Linked DNA regions of Homo sapiens: region 2 is linked to region 1. Evidence: promoter capture Hi-C in human tissues and cell types (Jung and others, 2019). All regions are on one chromosome and are shown on one strand. Each heading gives the region's core, a stretch centred on a gene start or on the middle of the fragment in contact. The rest is flanking DNA. Distances are from core to core; before and after follow the strand shown.

Region 1 (6,222 bases), core at 1,159-3,658:
CCATTTGAAGTGGAAAGAGAGATAAATTCCTTTTTTTTTTAGACTTTTTTTTTTTTTTTTTTTTAGATGAAGTCTGGTACTGTCACCTAGGCTGGAGTGCAGTGGTGCAATCTCCGCTCACTGCAACCTCTACCTCCTGGGTTCAAGCAATTATCCTGCCTCAGCCTCCCAAGTAGTTGGGATTACAGGTGCATGCCACTATGCCTGGCTAACTTTTTATATTTTTAGTAGAGATGGGGGTTTCACTATGTTGGCCAGGCTGGTCTTGAACTCCTGACTTCGTGATCTGCCCACCTCGGCCTCTCAAAGTGCTGGGATTACAGGCGTGAGCCACTGCGCCCGGTAGGAGATAAATTCTTGACTGTAATACGTGACAGACTGGGGCAAGGTCTATACTAAAGAAGCCATGGCAATACCAGGGAAGAGGAGTTAAGTCCTGCCTGGGAAAAACAGATGAGGAAGTATTTAATATGGATCTGAAGGAAGCATAAATTGTCACTTGGTCAATATGGAGAGGGAGGACTTATATTCCAGGCAGAGAAGAGAGCTTGAGCAAAAGAGTACAGGCAAGTATAGAGCATGCTCACGGAACGGCAATAAATCAGTGAGGGTGGGAGAGGGAAGCAGAGGAAATGGCTTAAGAGAACATGTATGTGAAGCCAAGATTGCATTGGATTTTGAATTCCAGATTAAGGAGCCTGGCCTTATTCATTCTACCTTCGCCGAAGAGTCCTACAGATTCTGTGTTTCAGAGGGTAATTTTGATTGTGGTCTAGATGAGGAAGAACTAGTCAAGAATTAAGAGAGACAGTCTACACTGAATCAGTTTGAGCTGGTTTCATAGTTTTGAGGAGACAGAATCTGATGTGTTAGCACATCACGAGGGCGAGGGACAGGAAGAAAACACAAATAATCCAGAATTTTCAAGTTCAAGTGCTTGGAAATATTCATGCCATGCACAAGCAAAGAAATGGAATTTAGAGGGGTCTAGGATTAGGAGCAAAGACAATGAAACAAGGGGTTATGGAGCCCCCTTTTTACTCTTTTCAAATTTTCTGGCATGATATACTTTCTAAGACATTGACACATTCTCATCTTATTCAACCTTTGGTAAGGCATTTTCTCATCTCACAAGATAGAGGTGATAGAAATAATGTATCCATTTATTTCTAAAAGATTATGTAAAACAACCTGAACCAGTTTAATTAGGGGAAAAGATTTTGGGTCGAAATAATTCAGAATTTTCTGCCAAAGAAAATGAAAATAAATTCACTTTAAATCCTTAGCAGTTTATTGGGCATTTGTCACATGCAGCAGTAGCTGAAGAGAGTGGCAGTGATAATGATGCAGATGTAGTTACTTATTTTCATTCAGTCCTTCAACCTGCTGTTATCCTCTTCAGGGCAGACTTCACTTCCTGGTTCCTCAGTGTATAGATGAGGGGGTTCAGTAATGGAGTGACAACAGTGTAAAACACAGCCGCTGCCCCATCCAGGGGGTCTTTGGAGCCAGCCCTAAGGTAGATGAAAATACAGGGGACATAGTAGACTGTGACCACGATTAGGTGGGAGCCACAGGTGGAGAAGGCCCGGCGCCTCCCATCAGTGGTGCGTATCTTCAGGATGGCATTTACTATGTTGGCATACGAGAGCAGAATTAACATGAAGCAACTGGCGGCCACTACCCCGACGTCCACAAAGGTCACAAGCTCATTGACAGTTGTGTCAGCACAGGCCAGTCTCAATACTGCGGGGATGTCACAGATAAAGTAATCCACCTGATTGGGCCCACAGTAGGGCAGGCGGAAGGTCAAGGTGGCCTGGATAGACCCATGCATGGAGCCGGCGACCCAAGCTCCAGCCACAAGGACTGTGCATAACCTCCCATTCATGAGCACTGGGTAGCGCAGGGGCTGACATATTGCCAGGTACCTGTCATAGGCCATCAAGGTGTAGAGGAAGCACTGGGTGCTGCCCAGGAAGTGAAAGAAATACAGTTGAGCCACACAGCCACCAAACGGGATAGCCTTGATGGAAGGAGTAAAATCCAAAATAAGCAGAGGAACGGTGACTGAGGAGAGCCACATGTCCAGGAATGAGAGCACTCCCAGAAGAATGTACATGGGGCGAGCACAGAGCTTCGGGTCAGCCCACATGGTGAGCAGAATGAGCAGGTTCCCCAGCTGAGTGAGGATGTAAATGATGAAGAAGACCAGGAAGAGGAGGCTTCTTAGATTTGGGGGGTGAGACAAACCCAGAAGAATGAAATCTGTCACCACGGCATCCAGCGATGTGTTTTTGGTCTTTCCCATGTCTTTTTGTAGTCTGCTAAGATGAATGGTGACGTTTGACAAGAGAAACACAGCACAATGATGTTGTAAGTGAATGCTTTTGTCGGATGATTGATGCCTAGGAATTATGAGATAAACAAGATAGAGTCAAATTGTTTTTTAAAAGAGGAGGTGGTGTCACCATTAGTTATTTAGGTTTACTTAAAAGGAGAAGTCCTCCAGAGGCTGGTTAGTTTCCTAGATGGGAGGAAACTCTTGTCCATTGAGAGATACTGAAAGCCAGGATTTGCCAGATGAAGGAAGAGGGACACATGAGAGTGATAGAGAAGTACCGAAAATTCCAACCAAAAAGTGAGTTCGCCAAGGAGGGGCTAAAGTTGATGCAGAGCAGTGTGGAACAAACACCCTATAATGACCACATCTACTTTTTCTTCACCTACTATCATTGTCCCCTTTTTCCTCAGCTAAAATCTCATCTCCTTAACATATCATGCAAAAATATTCCTCATCTGGCCCTTATTTATATCGCTATTGTACCACTTGTAATTCCTTCTTATTGTTGGGAGGCATGACACTCTTCAAGCTTCTCACAGTAGTGTGCTCTAACTTGGGACTTACGCACACACTATCTTTTCTGCTCCCTTCACATAGGTAGTGCCCACTTTTCCTTCAGGATTCAGTTTGAGTGTCTTCACCTTCAAGAAGGCTTTCCGGATCCCTGAGGACAATGCTTATACTTTTCTGAGCACGTACATTATGTTGCATTGTCTAATTTCTGTTTTTCTCTCTTAATAATCATCCCGTCTAGCATGCTAAAAGTGATAAATACCGTAATTATTTTCTGAATGACTGAGATAGATAGAATGGATGTTGCCAAATCCCCCTGACTGAATACATTGTTTCTCTTGATCTTTTTTGTCTGACCCCTGTGCTCACATGGCTGGGACTTTTAGGTCAAGGGACCACCTCATTCACCATGTAATATGGGTATAATTTCATTATAAAAAACTCCAAGAAACATTTATGCCTGTTTTTGCTCCAGGATATCATTTAGATTTATTTGTTGATTTATATGGTTCATTGGTTTGGGATTGGGTTTTTTTTTTGGTATGAGGTCACAGAGGAATTTTTATTGTTTGTTATAAAATCATTGATTAATGCAGGACTTGATCTTTAGTGTGCTTGTGTGTAATATCTATGTATTGCAGTCTATCAAACAGCAACTCTCTCTAAAGACATTTACAGATTTTCAAGTATCTGAACAAGATGATAAAATAGAGGGATGGAATGTGTTTGTTTCACTCTTTTTGTTAAATAGGTTGCTTGATAAAGACTTTTCGCTCTATATATGGTTTGAGATGCATTTATCTTTCATTTAACTACAAAATATCTTTGTAATGCAAATGACTACTTTCATAAAGCAATTAAAATGACAATAGATTATTATAAATAACATGTGAATATTAATAAGTTTAATCTCTATCGGAAATTCTCCAAAGAGATTTTATCTTAAGTATTCTGTGAAATAACTTAATTCATATGTTAACATTCAAGAGTTATTAGTAGTAATAATAATAATACTGAATATATCTGGCTCTTCGAAGTCTGGAAAATGTTAAACTTGTCCTTTGCCCACCAAGAACGAAGAAATATCAGATTTTTATTGCCTGAGTTTCAGGAGGACACTTTGATTTATTTGAAAATGGATGGGAAAACTAAATCTTATTTTTGTGGTTAGAATATAGAGAAAAGAGGCTGGGCGTGGTGGCTCACGTCTGTAATCCCAGCACTTTGGGAGGCCGAGGCAGGCAGATCATGAGGTCAAGAGATGGAGACCACCCTGACCAACATGGTGAAACCCTGTCTCTACTAAAAATACAAAAAAATTAGCTGGGTGTGGTGTCGGGCGCCTGTAGTCCCAGCTACTCGGGAGGCTGAGGCAGGAGAATCTCTTGAACCCGGGAGGCGGAAGTTGCAGTGAGTGGAGATCGCACCACTGCACTCCAGCCTGGTGACAGAGAGAGACTCTGTCTCAAAAAGAAAAAAAAAAAATGAATATAGAGCAAAGATAGAAAGAGTTGAGATTAAAATGGTGCATAAAATACTAATTATGGCCAGGCGCGGTGGCTCATGCCTGTAATCCCAGCACTTTGGGAGGCCAAGGTGGGTGGATCACGAGGTCAGGAGATTGAGACCATCCTGGCTAACACGGTGAAACCCCGTCTCTACTAAAAATACAAAAATTAGCTGGGTGTGGTGGTGGGCGCCTGTAGTCCCAGCTACTCGGGATGCTGAGGCAGGAGAATGGCGTGAACCCGGGAGGCGGAGGTTGCAGTGAGCCAAGATTGCGCCACTGCACTCCAGCCTGGGTCACAGAGCGAGACTCCATCTCTTAAAAAAATATATATACATATACATATATATATATATATATACTTATTATGAGCTAAAAGTAATTTTCTTTTCTTTCTTTTTTTTTGTGTGATTGAGTCTTGCTCTGTTGCCCAGGCTGGAGTACAGTGGCCTGATCTCGGCTCACTGCAACCTCTGCCTCCCAGATTCAAGTGATTCTCCTGCCTCAGCCTCCCAAGTAGCTGCGACTACAGGTGCGCGCCACCACGCCCAGCTAATTTTTGTATTTTTGGTAGAGAGGGAGTTTCACCATATTGGCCAGGCTGGTCTTGAACTCCTGACCTCATGATCCACCCACCTTGGCCTCCCAAAGTGCTGGGATTATAGGCGTGAGCCACCGCGCCCAGCTGAGCTAAAGTAATTTTCTTTGCCAATACAGGAATATAAACTAGTAGGCTTCTACTTAGGCAAATAATATATTCATGAAATGTTTTATGAAAATCCATTTTTATATTTAAAATCAGATAGAACTGTACCACTGGGGCAATTATTTGAAGGACTTCCATGATGCATACTTTCGTATAGTGAAAAGTTTATCCCTAATTTATCTACTTTGCCGGTCTGATTTTCCCCCTTTTGTTGTGCCTAAGTCTGGTTTCATTTCTCCCAGGCTCCCTGTTGAAAGAAAGCTCTTTTTACCCCTCTAGGTTCTGGGTTCCCTGCCTGGGAGGAGGCAGGAAACTGAGATGGGTTATAGCTGGTCGGTTTGAGGACAGGATACCTTTCCAGGCAGACTTGGTAAAGAACAGTGGTTTTAGCTTGGTGTTTGGTATTCAGAGGCTGCAGAGGAAGATAGCTTAGACTTCCAGAAGGTAGATTTTTGGAGAAACAAAGAGTGTGTTTACAGAAGGATTGGCTTTCTTGGCAAGAGAGGTGAACAGTCTGGGACCACCTTAGAGGAGACAAAAGAAAGGCCGGGCATGGTGGCTCATGCCTGTAATCCCAGCACTTTGGGAGGATGAGGCTGGAGAATCGCTTGGGCCCAGAAGTTTGAGACCAGCCTAGGCAACATAGTGGGACCCTGTCTGTAAAAAAAATTTTAAAAATTAGCCAGGTATAATGGTGGGCACCTGTAGTCCTAATTTCTCAGGAGGCTGAGACAGGAGGATCACTGGAGCCTGGAAGGTCAAGGCTGCAGTGAGCCATGATGGTGCCACTGTACTCCTTCCTGGGTGACAGGTTGAGACCTTGTCTAAAAAAAAAAAAAAAAAAAAGACAAATGTAGAGGCCGTATTTGTGTATCCTCTTTTCCCCCTCCCTTATCTTCCAGATTTGTGTCATTTTATTTTAGGTCTGTTCCTCTTTTTTAGCTTTTGAAACTTATGATATTTAAGATAAGGAAAGTTAAATACAATTTTAGTATATCTACCCTAGCTAATTAGATAACCAAAATATTCTAAAATTCCCCAAGTTTTAGACTGTATTGGATATTCTCCAATTAGATAGGTCAGAATTTAAATAATCAAAACACATGAAAATAACAAAAAGTTAAAGTTCAATATAAAAAGCATCTGAAAATA
Region 2 (6,222 bases), core at 1,761-4,260, 45 kb after region 1:
CCTGTGGTTCCATGATTTTTTGTGTATGTGGTTGGCTCCCTGGCACTATAGTATGTTTCAGGGAAGGGGAACCCAGGAACCTAACACGCTGGCAAAAGTGTAAGAATTTCTTACCAGTCAGGTTTCTGGCCTCTCTTTCCCTGTGCTTCTCTTTCCTTGTGCAAACTGGGAAAGTTCTGGCCTCTCTTTCCCTGTGTAAACTGGTTAAATGAATGGTAAAAAATCACTGTTTATCTTCTGCAAAGTTTTGATTAATGGAAAAAAGTATTTATGAGGTTAGTCTTAAGCTGTAGCGAATCTGGTATGTTTATGCATCTTCTGTATCATTCTTTCATAAAGAGGGGTACCATAGGATTGAACATGGGCTTTAAACCCCATAAGCCCACTGCTCAAGATGGCCCAGCAAGCTGGTCAGTAACAAACTTTGCTGCAGGATCCTGAAACAAACAAAAAAACTGGATAAGGTCTCCATATTGTTTTATGTCTTTGGGAGCTTGACCTTGTGACCATATGGTGGTACTTTCTCTTGCTCTCTGCCTTCCAGGGAAAAGGAATTTTAGGGTTCATGTCATAGTTACCTCTAAAAATTATCTTGAGTAGTTAAAAGCCTTTGCAAGCTCAAAATTAACTACTCTAGACTCCTTCTGGGATGGGCAGTGGAGACTTCCCAGTGCTGTAGCTCAGTAGCTAAGATTTTGTTCTTTCACAGTGGTGGCTTGGATTCAATCCTGGCTTAGGAAATGCATACTTTCTGGTTGATATCTGTGTGACCTTTATCATTTGTTAATTCTCTTCCTCTCCATGAACAACTTCTGACTTCCCTTCTTGAATTTTCCTTTCTTTGAGCTACCTTTGAAGATTCTAGATTTTGTAAAAACTGCATGTTTTCCTAGCCCTGTTTCTTGAAGGGCTCTGCCCTAAGGCCAGAATTAAGAAACTGGCAAATAAAACATCTAATAACTACTGGATCTTCTTCTGTCTGTGTATTTATGTATGTGTTGTGTGTATGATGTTTATATAAAAGATCTCTAATTAATTGGCATAAAAATAAGCTCTTAAATCAAATATTTTGAAAGAAAGATAAAAATCCTAATGTCTTTTAGCTCATGTAACTTTAGTAATCTTTGGGAAATAAAAACAGCTTTAAAGATTATTGGTAAAATAAAGACATTTGGTCTAAATTAGGCAGGTCAGATATTAGGTTTATTAAATGCTTTAAGGTCATGAACTGTTTTGACTTTTGAAAATTGTTCAATTTACCTACCTTGAAGACACTAGATTCTAGATAAGCCCTGGGGACATGTGGAATTAGCAATGCCCCTTAGCCATGCAAAGAAGGTTATAAAGAAAAGATATTTTTATATAAGAAAGAATACTGTATGTTAAATTCTTATCCTAAAGTAAAATAATGGTTATTTAAAAAGAGAGATGTTTAGGACAAGTCAGAAAGTCCAAGCACACTGTAGATGAAAGTCTGTGTAAGTCATGAAAGGATTCGTGAAAGGAAATCTGTGCACCAAAAGCAAAAGTTGCTGAGTTACCATTATAAGATGTGATTGAGATTACTGAAAAAAATAGTTTTACGTGCAGGGTATGTGAGGATAGTAAAATGTGTTTTTGGCAAAAGATTATAAGAAGGCATGGGAATGTAAATTTTTGCCTAGTTTAGAGGGTTAAAGGATTGTTTTAAATTATGTTAGAATAAGCTAAAAGCTTGAACAAGGTGTAGAAGGGTTGTAAAAATTAATCTTGTAAAAGAAATTCTGTGTGTGAACATATTGACTAAATTTAAAAGGGGATTATTTGTTTTTTCTGTAAATTGAACATCAAAATAAAAGCACAAACAGGGGTTTCTTAAAGCACTCATCTGCTCTTTAACAAAAATTTGTAAAGGGTTATAAAAGGTTTATCGGAATCTCACCTTATGGTCAAACTGATGAAGACTGGTTAGATTTGTCTATAGACAAATAGACAATAGATAGATTATAATCTATCCAAATTATATATAATTTGTTTTATTAAGAATTGGGTTTGACATTAATAATATACTAATGCAAGGGTAAAATTTGGCTTTCTCTCTTGAACAAGATTTTCATGTAATATTAAAGGATAATGAAAGATTTTTCTTTGCCTTTTGAGTAAACTACTGAAAAAACGGAAAGACAACAGACCAATTGGAAAGCTAAGTCTGTCCTTTATCAATGAGTAAAGGTTTTTGTCTTTTGAAAACTTCGAGTCATCATTTTGGCTAAATGAATGACTTATGGTAATCTGGAATACTAGTTCATAATATTAAGTGTTTTAAACCTTTAACATATTTAATAGGCTTCTCAAAATCAAATTTCAGCTTCAAAATTGTCTTTTCTGACCTCTAATTTTGAGATGATACAGAGGGCTCTTGAAGCATCTAAAAGAGAGATAAACAGGATTATTTGACATGTTTAGTTACATGGGATCGTCAAAATAAAAACAATGTTTAATCTTCTTCAGGTTATATTTTCATGAATAATAATAATATATTCCAAAATTTTATGCATTTCTAAAATTCTGATATGTCTGAGTATATGCTATCAATCATAATTATGGTTATTGTTATTATAGATCACAGAAATAACCACATTTCCTTGTCTGTTCTGTCTTTACAGCTATTTAAAGTCACTTCCACAGGTAATTGCATAATGCTGATGCAATTTCTAAAAATTTCACAAGCACATAAAATCCTAAAATATGATGTCTTTTAGGAGATTCATGAAAGGATGGAAAGGACCCTGAAAAGTGCTCTTGAATATAGGTTTCTAATAACTTTAAAATCACATCGTGGGTAAAATTCCCCAATTTCCCCAGAATTGGACCGGGTAAGAATTCCTGAAACTTTAATAAAAAGACTGATTGGTTTATAAAACTGCTTACCCCAGTAGAACAAAAATTAATTAAATACCGAGAAAATACTTTGCCAGGTTTTCATGCTAACTCAGCCAATATTAAAATTGTTGAGACATACAATTTGAATGAACTCCATGCTCTAACTGAAATTACCTATGACAACCCGTCAGTTATCAGTGTTATGCACCTAAGTCAGAGAAACAACTGGTATTCAAGAGGACATAAGTCTAGTGTTAAGCATGGACTCATGGAGAACCAGGAAGGCTGCCTTGTCCTTCCTGAGTCCTTAAAGCTTTTGTTATTAAAGGTTCTGCATTTCATGACTCATCATGGAAAAGATAAAATTATCCACATTACATGCATACTGGTGTGGTGACTTATACATTGCTAAATTAGTTTGTAACCAGTATTTGGTTTGTTAAATCCATATTCTTGGGAAGACAACCAAAGCTTCAGGTACACTTGGCTACCCGATGGGCCATTTAAACATTTATAAAGGGATTTCATTCAATTGCCATTTTCAACGCATGTTTTCTGTTTGTATAAAAGCTTTCCCATGCAAGAGGGCTGATGTTATAACAGTAGATTATTACGCTACAGTGTATTTTCACCTGGTAAAGAAAGGTTTTTATGATTCCCTGAGGACAATCAGCCCCTACACAATCTAGAACCCAAAGATTGGATCTTCTGAGAACATCAGAGAAAGACTGTCCTTGACATCCACACTATAGCAAAACTTTGGAACTTTGAACTTTGGGTTCGTAATCTCACAACTGAGAAGGGTCCCTCCACACTCTTGGAACTGTACATCCATTGGAACCCTTAAGGTAAAGCTAACCAGGGAAATTTCTCCCCAGAAGAAGATGCCATCCTTGATATAAACAGCTTTTCCCAAGATCACAGATCAAGACTTCTACTATTATGAGACTCTTATCTTTGAATACTTTTTCCTTGTTTATGCCTCTGTGAACAATAGAAATGGAAAGGGGGTCTGTTGTGTGCACTTATATGGTATACTTTTATTCATAAATGATTTTGCAGCCAGCCTTACACATGAATAACCTTATACCTTTACAGATAAAAAAATGAAAGCCCATTGTAGTTGAGAAACTTTAAAGGTAGAAATATTGCCATGTAATCAGTCAGAAACAGAACATGGATTCACTCCTCTTAACCCACATCGTGGGCTAAAGAGAATGTTGCTAGGAGGTCTTCACTCTTCCCAAAGGCATCATTTGTTAGGTCATTTTTCTGTGGTTTGAAGTAAAAGAGGCAATGATTAGAAATGTATCCCTCATGATAGGCACTATAGCAGATTCTACTGCAAAGACTATGCTTACACAACAGACTTTAAAGTCTCTTGTGACAGTTATGCTAAACAGTAGAATTGGCTAAACAGAGAAGAATCTGTGCAGTGCTAGCACTTGTGGCCTAGGAAGAAATACATTGGGTATTATAGAGATTCAGTTGTAGGGGATTAACAAAAAGATCACTTAGTTAAGCAAGTGGACTCTTTATCTAGCTCATTCTTTGATCTATTTGATTTTAGGTGGTTTGGTTTATGGGGAACCTGGGTAAGGAGCATACTCCAAACTCTTGGTATTATCCTCCCAATAGTTACCACAGTAGTCTCTCTGGTGCACTATATTCTCTTGAAGGTTTTAAATGTTTGCATGCAGCCATCTCTAGAATGTCAAATGGTCTCTCTTCAACTGGAATGACAAAAGCTGAAGTAAACATGTGACCATGAGGACACCGTAAACTATGAAGGACATGCTGATACCAGAAACCCAAAATGATGGTAACTGAGAGTGGCACTAAGGCCTTAAGTTTGGTTACGCTCTCACCTAAGTGAGAACCTGGCCAAAAAGGGGGAATTTTTTAGAACAAAATTATGGGAGGCCATTGTATTGGACTAAGATCATGCACTAGACCCCAACAGACCAAACCAAACCAAAACGGAGTTGCTTATGCTAAATTTGACGTAATGAAACTAAGACTTTAAGGAAACACATAAATTCTAGAACAGACCAGGTTTTGTTTTTCTCCTGAAAACAGAATATTTCAGCATAGGGAGGTACCCACTCAGTCCTTATTCTCTCCTTGGAAAACTCATTCTTCTACTGTTTCCCAGCGGGTTTGAAGACCAAATAAGTACATTTATGATGGTGATCATGACATTAATGACTAAAGTTTTGGTCAATCTCTCAAAATTGAGAAAATGACCAAAAGTGGGGAATTGTTAAAGCAAGCTAAATATAGCCTGAGAAAGACTACATACTTCTATATTTGAGTTTTGTGGATGAACTGTAACCTAGCTTAATTGAAAACCTTGCTTAGGAGTATGTGCCTGTAACAATAGCTGAGTCTTGGCCAATCCCAGTGGCCATACTTCAACCACTCAAAGACTGCAAAGTGTTCAAACTCTGTTCAAATAAGGCAAATGCCAACCTGTAACCAATCTAACTGTTTCTATACCTCACTCCTGACTTATGTACTTCATTTTCTTTTTTTTTTTCATCTATAAATCTTCTTCCACCACAAGGCTGCACTGGAGTCTGTCTGAATCTGCTGTGATTCTGGGGGCTGCCCAATTTGTGAATCACTCATTTCTCAATTAAACTCCTTTGGCTGAAATTTTTCTTTTAACACCTCTGTACTTTTGGAATAGAAGTACTTTATCATAGGCATGATATATCAAGGGCAATACAGAAAATGATATTCAGTTGATCGTAAGGCAATTACTCTCACCACTTTTTTAGTAAAATGCAAGATTGAGAATTAATCTTTGACTGTCTTATATCACAGTTCCCTGCTTTCCCCCAAGCCCTTGGTGGCCTTTCTCCTTGGCCCATGACTTTTTTCTGACTATACACAGATGGCCTCTGAGGTGTCCCACTAAGGCTTTTCCTCCCTGAAAGTATGTCCCTCTTATTCCAAAATGTATTCCACAGAATAAATGAAAACAGTGGTTTACACTTGCATAGCACTTTAGAGTTTACAAAGCTCCTTCTCACTCATTATTTTATTTGCTTTTTATAACACTCCTGTGAGGTAGGGAGCACTATGGAAAAATTGGATTGGTGTTAAGTGATTTTCACAGAGTTTACATGCCAGGTTAGCTCCCGAACCAGGGCTTAAACTCAGTCTTCTGGTGCCAAGTCCAGTGTTTACTCCATTACTTCACTTGGATGCTGCATATTATAAAGGAGAAATAGCTTCAAGATATGAATGATTGGTTAACCTCACCTTCTATGGAAGATGCACACTTAAAAGAATTGCTTGTTAAATCATATAGAAATTTTTCATTGGTGTAGGAGAGAGAGCAGTTTTTTAATT

What was found. Contacts are between HindIII fragments. The study calls those that stand out against the background at their distance.
Region 2: a fragment that was not itself captured here is called in contact with the fragment with the promoter of OR10G2 in region 1 in 3 of the 25 tissues and cell types used here (H1 embryonic stem cells, hippocampus and liver).

Annotation. Positions count from the first base shown.
Region 1 is chr14:21,632,532-21,638,753 of GRCh38, forward strand. OR10G2 (olfactory receptor family 10 subfamily G member 2) reads right to left here and starts at 2,409. Exons shown (of 1, transcript NM_001005466.2): 1 at 1,305-2,409. The coding sequence starts at 2,311. The coding sequence ends at 1,379. It also overlaps TRA. The HindIII fragment of the contact is 10,781 bases long and covers 1-5,708 here.
Region 2 is chr14:21,677,070-21,683,291 of GRCh38, forward strand. It overlaps TRA. Among named protein-coding and RNA genes, the nearest start is that of OR4E1, 6.4 kb to the left of the region's middle. The HindIII fragment of the contact is 4,222 bases long and covers 900-5,121 here.